Regions from separate parts of the Homo sapiens genome. Here regions 1, 2, 3 and 4 are each linked to region 5. The links are contacts of gene promoters, found by promoter capture Hi-C in human tissues and cell types (Jung and others, 2019). All regions are on one chromosome and are shown on one strand. The core of a region is centred on a gene start or on the middle of the fragment in contact, and the rest is flanking DNA. Distances in the headings are between cores, read along the strand shown.

Region 1 (2,724 bases), core at 54-2,553, 480 kb before region 5:
AGGAAATGCTCAGAGCCGCTCTAAGGAGGCATCATGAAAGCTGTTCACCACAGCACTGTTTTAAAAACTGTGAAGCAGCATGCCAAAACCTTAACAGCCCATGTCTCTGGGAAGTCACCTTATTAATTAGATCATCTCCCCAAAGTTTGGTAATGAAAGAGTATTATTTCATGAGAAAAAAAAAATTGCTTTTTGAAAAAATTCACGAAGGCATTAAAACAATTCTTTAATGGGTTTCCTGACCCAAAACTGGCCCTCCAGCTTCCCAGGCTGGCATGACTAGAAGCACCCCTCCAAGGCAAGTCTCTGATTTTGATCCTATCAAATCTCTGACACTTTCTAGACAGGAACCGAACCCACAAATTCATCTCCCAGACACGTGTGGATCAGGGCCCAGGGGGCTTACAGAAGCAGCGCGGTGCCCCTGCGCACCATCTGCCCCTTCCACGAGTGGGCGCTGAGGGAGGATCCAGTCGGGTCTGCCCGTTCCCCGCCGCCCGGGGATGCTGAGCACACCCGGGCCACCGCCAGCCTCGGGCACACACCCTGGACCTTTTATAAAACAAAACTGGGAAGACTTTCAAGGTCACATGGTCAGTGCACAGCAGAAGCAGAAACAGCAGCGGCCTCAAGGTCCGGGGCAGTTCCTAGAAACTGTTCCCTCCCCCGAACCTGGCGGCAGGTGTGCTCGAGGAGCCGCCGCCCCGGGCAGGTCGTGCGTCCACTCCCCGCCGCAAGCTCGGGTGGGGCAGCCGCGGGGACACGCGGGGGCCGCCCCCGACCCCGGCCCAAGGCTGTGGGGCTGGAGGGGCGGGCGGGCCGGTCTCAGCCCGGAGCCCCGCGTGAACTTCGGGGAGGAACTCGGTTGGCGCCGGGGCCCCGCACGCTCCCTTCCCGCGGCTCCGAGCGCTTTCCCACGGCCACGCCCCCCGCGCCCAGAACTTCCCGGCGACCCCGCGCCCCCTGCGCGCCCCCCGGAGGTGGCCGCGGTACGGGAGGCGGGCAGCACGGGGCTCGGCCCGGCCCAAGCGCCTTCGCCCCGCACCCCGCGGAGGGGGCCGCGTCCGAACCGGGCGGGGCGGGGCGGGGGCGTCCCCGGGGCGCGGGCGCGGCGGCAGGTGGGCGCGCTCTCGCGGGCGGGGGTCCGGCCGGGCCGCGCGCCTCCCCCGGAACTCGGCCGTGCCATTCCCATGATGCCCAGCCACGGGCACGGCTTCCGGAGTGCGGCCGCCGCCGCCACCGTCCGGTAGGTCGCGGGGAGGGGGCGGCTTGGGGGGGTCGCCCCGCCCCCCGCCCCGCCCCTCCCCTCCCGCGCTTCCCACGGCGCGGCCCGGGCGCGGGGCGGCGGCAGCGGCGGCGCGCGGGGAGGCGGGGAGGCGGGGGGCCCGGCCGGACGCCCCTGCGCCCCCTCCCCGCGCCCCGGCCGAGGGCGGAGCGCGCTGGCCCTGCAGCCTCCGGCCCGCCCCCGGCCCGCCGCCTCCCCCGGGACGTGGGACGCGGGCGCAGGCGGGGTCCGCGCGGCGGGCGGCGGGGGACGGGCGGAGGTGAGCGGGTGCAGGGCCGGGGCCGGGGGGCTCGGGGGCTGGGAAGCTGGGGGGTCGGGGACAGGAGGGCCAGCCAGGCCGGGGCCGGCGCGCCGTGCAGGCCGCGGCGGGCGGGCGGCGGGGGCTCCCCGAGGCAGGCGGACGGGGATCGGCGCCGGGGCTGCTCCGTTCCCCGGGCGGGGATCCTGTCTCTGGCCTCCGTGCGACTCTCGGCCCGCGCGCCCCGCGCTCCTGGAGCCCCAGGTGAGGCGCAGGTGAGGGCCCGCGGTGGGGAGCTTTGGCCCGGCCCGGGGCGGCCGCTGCCCTCCGAGAATGGCCGCGGCCCGGCCGGCCTGGAGACTGCGGTTCACGCCCTGCGCCAGGCGGAGCTTCCGGGAGGGTGGCCGCTCTCCCGGGCCCCAAGCTCGCTAGTCCTCGGATCCCAGAAACATAACTCCGGGGGTGCAGACCTGCTTGGAGGCCCGGCCTCTTCCCTGGGAGGCGTTCACTCCCGCCGGGCCGAGGACCAGGTCGCCGATCCCAGCGGCTAGGGTGAGCGCGCCCTCGGGGAGGGGAGCTCCCTTGGGGGACCCTGCCCAGCCCGCAGGCCGTGAGTAGCCCAAGCTTGGGAGTCAGGGGAGGTCGGGCCGGGGCAGCCGGGAGGGGCTCACCTTGCCTTCAGTTCCCAAGCACAGGAAATGGCGGTGCAGCTTTGCTGGGGGACGCTTGTAGTGAGGTTGTAAAATTGCAGCTTCTGGAAGGCTGGGAGCTGAATTCTAGCCCACGCCCACTTCTGGGTGGCTGGAGCGGGTCCTCCTGCTGCCCCGCCCGCTCCTGCACCGGGGCTCCTCTCCCTGGCCTGCAGACCCTGGCCTCCCTACCCTGGGGGGAAACCCCACCTGGGAGGTAAGACCGCTGGCTGAGCTGCTTTTCGGCCAACCGAGAAATGTAGAGTATTTGGGGGCGTTTCTCACAGGTGGGCAGACTGTTAGGATGGCGAGGGCCCAGTGTGGGTGCTTTGGTTCTCTCCAGAAGGTTGATGTCTGGACCGAGAAGGTACCCGAGTGTTCTCCACCGCTTCCTAAAATCTGACACCGTGTGGCCTTGGGGTGCAGGTGCTGGGTGTCCCCACAGCCACCCTCAAGACCGTATCCTGAGGCAGCAATTTGACAAAGCCTGCACCTCTGGCTTGGGCCCACAC
Region 2 (2,786 bases), core at 44-2,543, 440 kb after region 5:
GAGCCGGACCACAGAGGGCATTTGAGAAACGTTCACAGAGACACACACTGAGACTGCCCAGGTGGCAGGCACTAACAGCATGGTTGGGAAGGAAGCTCCCAAAGGGAAGGCTGGCTGTTCTCTGTACATCCAGAACAACGCCTGGAACGTGGCAGTGCCTGACACTAACAAATGTTTGTCAAGCTTTTTTCTTAGGAACTGTGGTCCAGGAAGTCTGAAGGGAGAAGGACGCTAGAGAGAGAGTGGGAGAATGAAACATTAGCAGAGAAAATCTAAAGGAATCACTAGCACAGACCCGGGAGCCCAAAACACCCAACAACAAAGAGAAACGCCCTCCCCCGTCCTTGGCGTGGCTCTCCCTGCTGGAGGCTGACTGGGGCCCTGCCCAACTGGAACAAAACCAAAGCATCCACCCGCGAGCACCGTTAGCCGCATCAGCAGCCCAGGTCCCCTCACTCCTTCACAAAGCCCCTTGTTTATGCCCGAAATGCTTGTGAACCTGTAAACTCAGTTAACAGCCGGCCAGAGGCAGAGCTGGCAGCGACCGCAGGCTGGTTCAGCGCCTCCGGGCCGGCGGAGACGCTTTCCTCTGGAAGCCTCACACGAGGCTGCTGCCTCCCCCTCCCCGTGTCGCTCAGGTGAGCAATGATCAGCAGGAAGGAGGTCAAAGTCACACGTGCTGAGCCACTGACATCAGGGGCTGTCCCTCTCCCCGCACCCCTCTCCCAAGGGCTGGTCATGAGGGCTGCCCACCAAGACGGAGCGCAGCAGGCGGTCCCTCCAGCCCCAGCTGCGGGGACGCCACCCAGACTCGGCTGGGCCCAGGGAACCCCAGGATGCGCCAGGACGATGGGCGTTTAGGCACTGGCTTGGGAGACAGACCCGGCCCAGGCCCAGTTCCGCCTCCTGCTCGCTGCGTGAACTGGGGAAACCCCCTCCGAGGCTCGGCCACCGCGGAATCGCCGGCGCAGTCCCCGAGACGCACGCGGGCGCCCTGCAGCCGGGGCCGCCCCGCCGGAGCCTCCTCGGAGCCCGCAGCCCGCTCCCAGCCGAGGGGCTCCCAGGGCCAGAATCCCCGCGCGCCCAGGCTCGGCCGGACGGGGGCCACGCCGGGCCTCAGTTTCCCCGACTTTGGGCGCTGCCCCGCCCCCGTCCCGGGCCTCGGCTATCCGCTCCTCGGGACAGCGCCCCCTCCACGGGGAGAGCCCTGAAGCTGCCGACGCCACCCGCGCCTCACCTGCTGGGCGCACACCTTACCTGGCCGCGCGGACCCCGCCGTCGCCCGGGCGACTGCAGACTCGACGCTTCCGGCGGCTGCAGAACAAGAGCGCCGCGCGCCGGAAGTCCCGCCTCCTGAGGCGCGGGGCACGCCGGGACGGCCGCTGCGGCCTGCCGGGACTAGAGAGGCGAACGGCTCGATGCTGCCCTCGCGCGGCCGCCCTGGGGGCCGCCTCCGCGCGCTCTGGAGGGGCGCGGGTGGACGCGGGACCTCAAGGCAGGGGACAGACAGGGACAGGCACCCGGCCACCTGGTCACGATCCGGAAGACCGGCCCTTACTGGCTGTGACCTTCGGCCATCGCTGGACCTCTCTGTGCTTGTTTCATCCTCTGTTAACGGACATGTTGGGGTTTGGTTAAGCAACGGATGAGAAAGTCTACGTGAAAGGCTTTTTCCCCAGCCTGCCCTGCATGCTCAGGATCGCCGAGGCCAGGCCGATCTCCAGGCACGTGCAGGAGACTGAGGCCAGAGGGTGGGGGCCCGCACCACACAAACTCGCTTCCCTGGTCACCTGTGCACACCCTCTGGGGTCTCCTGGCCTGGAGAGCTGCCCCGGGGCCCTCCCCTAAGTGGGCATTCATTCCTTCAGGAACGTGCCAGGGCTAACTCGGCCGGGAGCTGGGCAGGGGCCTACAGTTCCTGGCTCCTGAGAGCTTCTAAGTATCGGTGCTGCAAAGACATCCTGGGCCCAGCCAGTTGAGGGGGCCTCCACTCCAGCCTGGGGTGAGCTAGGGGCATCAGCTGGAGAACTATAAAGAGGGTTTGCCCTGCCTACCTAGGAGGTGGGCTTTTGGTGGCAAAGGGCTAGGCCCAGGTGAGGCCAAACTGGGAGCTAGGGATTGGCAAGAAACAGATGGAGGGGATGGAACCAGGCGGCTGGGGGCTCCTCGAGCGCCTCGTTTCAGTCCCTGCATCGGGCTTGAAATCTGGAGGCAGAAGGCAGGCACTAAATACCGCGCCACAAATTGTATTTTTAAACTTCTTACTATCAAACGCTTCAAACACAGACATCAAAAGAGAGGGGTGCGCAAAACCCACATGCCCATCCCCACCGCGCTTCCCTGGGCCCCACCTGCTCCATGAGCTGCTGGCATGAGGGCCAGGGGACCACCCCACTTCACACGCATCTGGTGGATGGGACCCGCCTGGCGATCTGGCCTTTGTGACCCCCACCCCATCAAATGCTGTCTCTCCCAAAGGGCCTCAGGGAAGGCCTGTGGCCTGAGGCATCCTCCCCAGATGCCCCCATCCTGCTGCTACAGGGCTCCCAGAGCTGCCTATACACTCAGAACCTCATTCCGGCACTTCCCAACCACAGCACCCTGTCTCAAGTCAGCTCTGCCAACAGAATCCAGAGCCTGCTTTCACCAACCAGCAGGAGCAGGAGGCGCATAGGGCTACGCAGCAGGACCGCTCCACAGTGACTGCTGGAAAGCTCTGGCCTTCACCTGTAGCTAAGGCTAGGGGTCTAGCAATTCAGACGCCTTGTTTGAAAAATTCAACCACA
Region 3 (2,700 bases), core at 53-2,552, 460 kb after region 5:
CTCCCAAAATGCTGGGATTACAGGCGTAAGCCACCACGCCCAGCTTATATGTATATACATATGTTTTTTTTTTTTTGTCTTTTTGGTAGAGGTGGAGTTTTGCCACATTGCCTAGGCTGGTCTTGAACTCCTGGACTCAAGTGATCTGCCCACCTTGGCCTCCCAAAGTGCTGGGATTTTAGGCATGAGCCACTGTGCCTGGCTGGCATTGGATTTCTGTGTAACCACTCTGAAGATGATCTCATCTGGGGTTTGCGAGCCCTCATTGTTTTTCACATGGCGACACTTGCTTGTTTTCTTGGTTACAGCTAGAAAGAGACATGTCCAATGTCAGCCTGGGCCCGACCCCCATCCCCGAGCTCACGCACATCATGGTTGGACTGGAGAGCTGCTCCTTCCTGGTGAGTCCTGGTGCTGGGTCTGATGGCGTTCCTGATGCAGTGTGGCCGGCTCAGCCAGCCCTGCCCTCTGTCCCTGGCATCCGACAGCGCTCCTGATGGGGCGTGGGCGGCTCAGCCAGCTCTGCCCTCTGTCCCTGGCATCCAGCAATGCTCCTGATGCAGTGTGGGCGACTCAGCCAGCTCTGCCCTCTGTCCCTGGCGTCTGACGGCGCTCGTGACACAGCGTGGGTGGCTCAGCTAGCTCTGCCCTTTGTCCCTGGCATCCGACGGCGCTCCTGACGCGGCATGGGTGGCTCAGCCAGCTCTGCCCTCCGTCCCTGGCGTCCAGCGGCGCTCCTGACGTGGCTTGGGCGACTCAGCCAGCTCTGCCCTCCGTCCCTGGCGTCTGACGGTGCTCCTGACGTGGCGTGGGTGGTTCAGCCAGCTCTGCCCTCCGTCCCTGCAGGAGGAGGACTTCATCCCCTTTGCAGTGTTGAACATGATGATGGGCGGAGGTGGCTCCTTCTCGGCTGGTGGGCCCGGCAAGGGCATGTTCTCCAGGCTCTACCTCAACGTGCTCAACAGGTGGGTTGCACTCTTTTCTGTATCCTCAGGCCACCAGGCCAGGCCAGGTGTGTTTTTGGACCATGAGGCCACCTTCCAGGTGACTTTTCTCCAGTTTCCCATGGCCTGATCCTGGCGAGTCCCCTTCACTCCCATGACTCTCGCTTCCTCCCAGGCACCACTGGATGTATAACGCGACCTCCTACCACCACAGCTACGAGGACACTGGCCTCCTTTGCATCCATGCCAGCGCCGACCCAAGACAGGTGAGGGCCCCGCCTGCCACCGTCCTCAGTGCGGTTGCCTGTCCAGACCTGGGCGTCCCTGCCTAGACGGGTCAGTAGGCCGGCAGGCGCAGGCCACACTGTTATCGTCTTGCCCTTCTTCGCAGGTTCGAGAAATGGTAGAAATCATCACAAAGGAGTTTATTTTAATGGGCGGAACCGTGGACACGGTAAGTGCAGTGTGGCGCCATTTCCAGGCGTACCTGTGGTGTCTGACAGGAGACAGCCACGTTGTAGGAGTGGCCACCTGTGGGCCTGGTCCCTGAGCCTCAGGGCCAAGGTCCCGGCAGGGCAGGGCAGGGCAGGGCGGCCAAGGAGGCACAGCCTGGGGCTGAGCTGCTCCACCTGGGAGCCCGCTGAGGCTGTTCTTCCCTGGTCCAAACCCCGAAAACAGAAAAACAGACCACCGCCCTCCCCCAGTGCTCGGTCCACTACTTCTTTCTCTGAGCCACTGGGTGAGTCGTGGGACTGACCATGTGACTCTCTCAGCTTTGCTGGCGAAACGCTGCAGGAGTTTTTGTGTCCTTCTCAGCCGCCTCTGTGAGGTGACTGGGGTGAAGCAGCTCGCACAGGTGGGCTGCAGCGTGGGGTGTCTCGAGCCTTTCCCTGGCTCCATTCTATGTTTGAAACTGTATTTGTTTACCAATTTTTTTTTGTTCTTTTTAAGATGGAGTCTCACTGTCTCACCCAGGCTGGAGTGCAGTAGCTCAAATTCGGCTCACTGCAACCTCCACCTCCCGGGTTCAAGCGATTCTCCTGCTTCAGCCTCCCAAGTAGCTGGGATTACAGGCATGCGCCACCATGCCTGGCTAATTTTTGTATTTTTAGTAGAGACGGGGTTTCGCCATGTTGGCCAGGGTGGTCTTAAACTCCTGACCTCAAGTGATCCGTTGCCTTGGCCTCCCAAGGTGCTGGGATTACAATTACAGGTGTGAGCCACCATGCGTCCCTGTTTACTAATTTTTTAAGCTTAGTTTTTGATGCTTTACACATTTGGGAACCTCGTTACTTCCTGGACCAGAAGTGGTACAAATAAGCAAGTTTTATACACACACTTTTTTTTTTTTTTAGACAGAGTCTTGCTCAGGCTGGAGTGCAGTGGCATGATCTCAGCTCACTGCATCCTTCCACCTCCCGGGTTCAGGTGATTCTCCTACCTTAGCCTCCTGAGTAGCTGGGATTACAGGCATGTGTCACCACCCTAGCTAATTTTTTTGTTTTTTGTTTTCTGTTTTTTTTTTTTTTTTTTGAGACGGAGTCCTGCTCTGTTGCCCAGGCTGGAGTGCGGTGGCATGATCTCAACTCATTGCAACCTCCGCCTCCCGGGTTCAGGTGATTCTCCTACCTCAGCCTCCTGAGTAGCTGGGATTACAGGCACCCACCACCACACCTGGCTAATTTTTTGTATTTTTAGTAGAGATGGGGTTTCACCATGTTGGCCAGGCTGGTCTTGAACTCCTGACCTCAAGTCA
Region 4 (2,729 bases), core at 32-2,531, 460 kb before region 5:
CCCCGCAGCGGAGTTTCAGGGTAGAGAGGAGAGGAGACTCACCCGACACAAATCAGTGGAGCTGAGACCACAACTGGGCTTTCTCCCCCCACGGCCCTGCCCCCCACTGCCCTTATCCCCACTTCCTTGTATGAGGCTCTAGGGAGCACGGTCGCCGCTCACTGGCGGGCGATGACAGCGCGGGCCCCGGATGACCACTCGATCTTCTTGATTTCTGTAGCTAGGACCTTGGGGGTCTTGCGGGGTCTCTCACACACGGGGCTATCGAGCAGTGGACGCCAGGACCAGGCGGGCCCCAGCTTCCTCACCTGTAGCCCCGGAACCACCCCGGGTTGTTGAACCTGCCCGGCAGGTCCGCGCTCACGCGGTAGTAGTCGCTGGTCCTCTCCGGCGGGGCCGTGGCCTTGGGCGCCACAGGCTCCGCGCACGCTCTGGGGCATTCCTCAGCCATTGTGCCTGGAGGAGAAGCGGGACTCGGCGGCGTCCTGTTGCCAAGCGACGGCCAGGTCACGTGACTGGGGAGCGAGCGGAGGGGCCTTAAAGGCGCCGCGCGTGGGCCGGGTTCCTCTGCGGGTGGGTCCGGAACCTGCCGGGCGACTCCCCAAGGGCCGGGAAGGTCGGGACGGCGAGAGATTCCCTGCTGGGACCGTCGTGTGAGGCAGCCCCAGGCCCCCAGCCACCCGCGGGGGGACCGGGCCACCCCAGCATCAGGGCGTGGACTCCCGGGCGAAAGAAACCCCAGGGCCTGGGACCCCGCCAGCCGGGTGACGGGGTTTAAGCACTGCAGGTCCACTCGGCAGGCAACGATTGGACTTTTGCTGTCCAATGTACTCCAGGGATGCTATGCCCCCCAGCACCCCGAGTCTAAATTGAGACCCGAGATCTGGCTAACTTTATGAAATTCTCCTAAGCCAAATATCGTTTAAATATTACAAACAGTTTTGGAGAGCGAGAGGTTGCGCAGGACGTGGTTCACAGCTCACTTGGCGGGAGGCGAGGGTCCCCATCGCCCAGCGGGCTTCCCCAAGGGTCAGGGGCCTCCCGGGCTGGCCGGTCCCATTAGCAGGGCGGGGCGAGCTGCAGGGCGAGGACCGTGGCTCCACTCCCCGCCCGAGACTCTCAAGCCCAGGACCCCGGGCCCTGACCCCTCGCGTGCCCCGCCCCCGCAGGGAGGTCCCAGCCGCCTGGGGACAGCGCTGTGGCTCCTCCGGGCCTGTAGGCGGCACTGCGGCCCCGCGCGGATGGCGACGGAAGGGGAGGCCGCTCGGCCTGGCCTGGAGGGAGACCTCGCTCTGCCCCGCGTCCCAGCCATGGCGACATCCTCGGCCGCGCTGCCCCGAATACTCGGCGCGGGTGAGCGCGCGCTTGCGGGACCCTGGGGAGGAGCATGCGAGGAGGATGCGGAGGGGCGCGGGGACCCGATGGAGCGGCGGGGACGTGGAGGGGACCCGGGGCGAGCGCGGAGGGGACTCGGGGAGGGCGCGGGGACGCGGAGGGGACCCGTTAGGGACGCGGAGGGGCCCGTTGGGGATGCGGTGGGGAGCGGGCGTGGTGCATTCGGGACTCGGCGCCAGGACCTCTATCTACTTCCCCCCAGGTGCCCGGGCCCCGTCGCGCTGGTTGGGCTTTCTCGGGAAGGCGACCCCCCGGCCTGCTCGGCCGAGCCGCAGGACGCTTGGAAGCGCGACGGCCCTTATGATCCGCGAGTCGGAGGACAGCACCGGTAACACTGGGCGCCCAGCCGAGTTGGGTGGGAACGAGGAGAGGCCGGCAGCCGCGGGGGATGCGAACCCTAGAGGGGCCTGGGCGCTGCACGCGGTCGAAACTGCGCGCTCCGCTGGGCTCCTCCCACTCCCGTGCTCGCCGCCGCTCGGTCCTGCCTGACGTAGCACAGCGGGCTGAGGCCACCGCCTCACCATGGATAGGGTGAGAGGGAGCGGGCGGGCCAGTGGTTAGCACAGGCTTCGCTCCCTAGGGGGGTGTCACTGGACCACCGAGGCCCGGAGCCCCGAGCTCGCCCAGGCGGGCCCAAGTGACCTGGGGGCACTGGGCTTGGAGTCTGCCCACCTTGCTGGACTCCTGATGGGGACTTTCTGGCTGGCCACCTGAGACCACAAGGCGGGGAGGTGCCAGAAAGACCTGAGCAACCCGCTGGGCCCCTCTCTTTTTCTCCTCTGTCTTCCAAGTAAGACCAAGGGACGGGGTTGACCAGGTTCGACCAGGCTTACCCAGGAGCAAGGTCGGGATCAGAACCTGGCTCCAGCCCTCTGTTTCCTGAAAAGGTCCCTGTGCTTCCAGGTCTTTCCTGGGGCTGCTGGGCTCCCGGCTCCCCACCTCGGTGTCACAGAAGGCACTTGGGAGCAGGGGTGGGCGGGAACTGCGCTCTGCCTGTCTCTGCTGCCACCGGTGGGAGACGCAGCGTCGCTCCTCCTCCCTGCCGTAGATTTCAACGACAAGATTTTGAATGAGCCCCTCAAGCACTCTGACTTCTTCAATGTCAAGGAACTGTTTTCCGTGAGAAGCCTCTTCGATGCCCGAGTCCATCTGGGACACAAAGCTGGCTGTCGGCACAGGTAGGTGACACCCCCATCTGAGCCCGGGGCGGTTCCCAGGAGGAACCTGGGACCTGCTCTGGTTCTAGGGCCACTTTTGAACTGGCCTATGTCAGTTTTAGGTGATTACAGCCCCATCCTCCTCCACATGGGAATACAGAGCCCCACAGAGAAGCA
Region 5 (2,700 bases), core at 83-2,582:
CTGAAGTTTATCCTTAGAGACCACACTCAGCTCAAGTGTAACGCACTCAACCTGTCAACACAGATACGTCGTAACTTATCACATGGAGTCGCCACTAGAAAATTGCAGCCTCCTTCAACCTAAATTCTGCCAAGCCCTCAGATCATGTCAGGTATAGACAGGAGGTCAGTCTGACACACAGACAGGCTTCTTAGCTGACCTTACTGAGTCCTTTAGAGACTCGAGAACTAGTTCCAAAAATCAGCAACCTAAGGAACTAAATACACAGGAGTATTTCAGGTGAATAAACTTTAAAAAGTGTCTCCGCGAGGAGACCCTACTCCTGGGACTTCTCTCTTGACCAATTTTACCTCTGCAGAAAAGCAGGGGCGCAGGGCCTTGTCCCGCAGCGGCACTATTTCAGGGACTCCAGCTAAAAGGCACAGTGGCCTGGGGCCAGCCAGGAAAAGAGCTCCAAGCAGCCGGCTCTGCGGGAAAGGGGAAGAGGAAGGAGAAGGGGCCTCTTCATGAAGGAGCCTACGTTAATTCTCAGCTCTCAAAGATGCTGCTGAAAAAAAACCTCACCCCAACAGCAAAAAGGTACAACTGCCGGAAAGTCCCGAGGCCCTGCTCCGTCGGCGACTTCACTCTCCAGGCCTCAGTTTCCCGATCTGCCCCTACCTCCCTGCGTGGCTGCAGAGTTAACTGAGAGGCTGGCGTGTACAGGGCTCGGCCGGGCGGCTGGCACGGGGCGAGCGCTTAGTGACCGGAGTCCGCCGGCCGAAAGGCCAGGCCCGGGACGAGCGTCCAGAGGTGTGGGATCCGAAAGGGGGAGAGTCGGGCAAACGGGCAGGAGGCGCTGCCTCCACCCCCGGAGGAGAGGGCCTGGGAGCTGCGGACTGGGCGGCGGACCCCAGGTCGGGGCGGTTCGGGGACTGAGGCGGGGTCCGCAGTCGGAGGGGTCCGGAGCGGGTGTTGGGGGCAGGGGAGGGGGCCCGGCCTTACGTGCTTGAGGCAGCGCTCCTTGAGCTTCTCCACCGAGGTGTCCTCGGTGGCCTCCTCCAGCCACTCGGCGCCGTCGGACGCGCAGATGTGCAGCCGCAGCACCTTGCCCGCGAAGATCTTCTCCTCCTGCACGAACATCCCGCCGCCGCCGCAGGGGCCTGCGCCCGCCACCCGGGCCCCTGAAGGTCACCGGGAAGGCGGGCGGGGAGGGGGCGGGGCCAGACCGCCCGCGCGCTCCTTCGCTGGGCCGCCGCCCCGCCCCGGCTCCCGTCGGCCGGGCCGCCGTCACTCTCCGCGGCCTCAGCGGTCGCCTCGCTCCCGCCGCCGCAGCAGCCGCCGGGGGCGCGCCGTCGCGGCCGCACCGGAAGTGCGTCACGGGCGCGTCTGGCGCATGCCGGGAGATGTGGTTCTCGGACAGGCGCCTCGCTCCCGCCGCCGGGGGCGCGCTGTGGCCACCGCAAAGGAAGTGCGTCACGGGGCGCGCCCGGAGCATGCCGGGAGCTGTAGTTCTCTGGTAGCTTCGTTCCTCCCCGAGCTGCAGGCGGTTCCCACCCGGGGCACTCACCACGTGGGACCTCATGGGTTCTAAAGGTAAAATACACGCTGGATCCCAAAGAAGTAACGGGAAAAAGGAATGTAAGGCATCTCGATAATGTTTTCATATTGATTACATGTTGAAATAATATTTTGTATCTATTGAGTTAAGAAAAATATGTCATTAAAATTAATTTCACCTGTTTCTTTTAACCTTTTTAAGATAGAATTTTAAATTGCCTACATGGCTGCTGTGATATTTCTTTTGCACTGCACTGCTGTAGAACGGAGGCTCTCCAAAGAACTTGGCTTTAACAAGCCTAGGTCTTTCTAATTCACACGCAGATCAGAGAGTCACTGTTCCTGCGAAGCCTAGGTTTGCGGGGCACCCAGAGGGGAGGGAAGCCGCCCTTGGTGCAGGTGATGCCAGGCAGACTCATTTTCTGTGGGGTGTGACAAAGAGTCTTTGCTTGGCCAAACTTAAGCAGGCTCCTGAACCTTCTACATCATCTGTACACTTCCTTGTAAAATCCAGTTTTAGCGAAGAGCCTTGATAAGTGAGTTTAGCAAGAACTCCCAGCCTCAATATCAGATCACCCTGGACGTCTGGTCAGGTTCCTCGTCCCCCAGGTGCTGTCTGATATCTCCAGCCTCTCTTCAGCAAGAACCCTGTCAGGTCGGTTTAGCCAGAACCGCCCACATCCCTGATGTTTTCTCCTATTAATTTTCCATTCACTGACCCCACCCACTTGCCCTTGCTGTATTGGGAGTTGAGCCTGACCTCTCTCCCCACTGCAAGCCCCCTTGGCAGTGGTCTCTGTACCTAGCTCAACAGTCCTGGATAACGTCTTACTTACCATGCTCCTAAATATGAATTTTGTAGTTCAGGTTAGACCTGACACATTGACTGATCTGTACTCATTCATCCCATTCATTTAAAAAAACTTTACTGCGCAGAGATGAATAAGGCACAGTTCCCGTTCTCAGAGGTTAGCAATCTAACCGGGGAGGCTGTCTCTGCCTCCTGCCTGCAGGCTTTTATTCTGTCCACACCATTTTGCACACACATCCTCATTTTTCTCCTGTGATAATTCCAACCTCGTCCAGATTCCATGTGTCCAGTTCAGCACTTACTAATTGCCTCTCACAGGTGGGAGCCTCTGCTACTCAATGAAAATATGG

The links. The method cuts DNA at HindIII sites, captures the fragments that hold promoters and counts their contacts. A contact is called where the count stands out against the background at its distance.
Region 1: the fragment with the promoter of PPP1R26 here is called in contact with the fragment with the promoter of UBAC1 in region 5 in 1 of the 25 tissues and cell types used here (H1 embryonic stem cells).
Region 2: the fragment with the promoter of SNAPC4 here is called in contact with the fragment with the promoter of UBAC1 in region 5 in 2 of the 25 tissues and cell types used here (dorsolateral prefrontal cortex and lymphoblastoid cells).
Region 3: a fragment that was not itself captured here is called in contact with the fragment with the promoter of UBAC1 in region 5 in 1 of the 25 tissues and cell types used here (hippocampus).
Region 4: a contact is called between the fragment with the promoter of MRPS2 here and the fragment with the promoter of UBAC1 in region 5, in 1 of the 25 tissues and cell types used here (dorsolateral prefrontal cortex).

What each region holds. Positions count from the first base shown.
Region 1 is chr9:135,478,479-135,481,202 of GRCh38, forward strand. It overlaps PPP1R26 (protein phosphatase 1 regulatory subunit 26), which reads left to right and starts at 1,304. Exons shown (of 4, transcript NM_014811.5): 1 at 1,304-1,544. RefSeq lists silencers at 1,826-1,885, 1,896-1,945. The HindIII fragment of the contact is 17,940 bases long and covers 1-2,724 here.
Region 2 is chr9:136,398,877-136,401,662 of GRCh38, forward strand. It overlaps SNAPC4 (small nuclear RNA activating complex polypeptide 4), which reads right to left and starts at 1,294. Exons shown (of 24, transcript NM_003086.4): 1 at 1,258-1,294. RefSeq lists silencers at 952-1,061, 1,132-1,261, 1,332-1,541, 1,692-1,741 and an enhancer at 1,507-2,443. The HindIII fragment of the contact is 18,374 bases long and covers 1-2,786 here.
Region 3 is chr9:136,417,709-136,420,408 of GRCh38, forward strand. It overlaps PMPCA (peptidase, mitochondrial processing subunit alpha), which reads left to right. Exons shown (of 13, transcript NM_015160.3): 8 at 309-401; 9 at 847-965; 10 at 1,120-1,210; 11 at 1,336-1,398. Among named protein-coding and RNA genes, the nearest start is that of PMPCA, 8.4 kb to the left of the region's middle. The HindIII fragment of the contact is 6,608 bases long and covers 1-2,700 here.
Region 4 is chr9:135,499,401-135,502,129 of GRCh38, forward strand. MRPS2 (mitochondrial ribosomal protein S2) reads left to right here and starts at 1,282. Exons shown (of 4, transcript NM_016034.5): 1 at 1,282-1,353; 2 at 1,598-1,723; 3 at 2,444-2,573. The coding sequence starts at 1,311. PIERCE1 (piercer of microtubule wall 1) reads right to left here and starts at 469. Exons shown (of 3, transcript NM_001048265.2): 1 at 309-469. The coding sequence starts at 451. RefSeq lists silencers at 572-741, 1,012-1,181, 1,392-1,551 and an enhancer at 1,507-2,131. The HindIII fragment of the contact is 18,925 bases long and covers 1-2,729 here.
Region 5 is chr9:135,960,041-135,962,740 of GRCh38, forward strand. It overlaps UBAC1 (UBA domain containing 1), which reads right to left and starts at 1,333. Exons shown (of 10, transcript NM_016172.3): 1 at 985-1,333. The coding sequence starts at 1,122. RefSeq lists silencers at 943-1,062, 1,073-1,482 and an enhancer at 953-1,453. The HindIII fragment of the contact is 18,279 bases long and covers 1-2,700 here.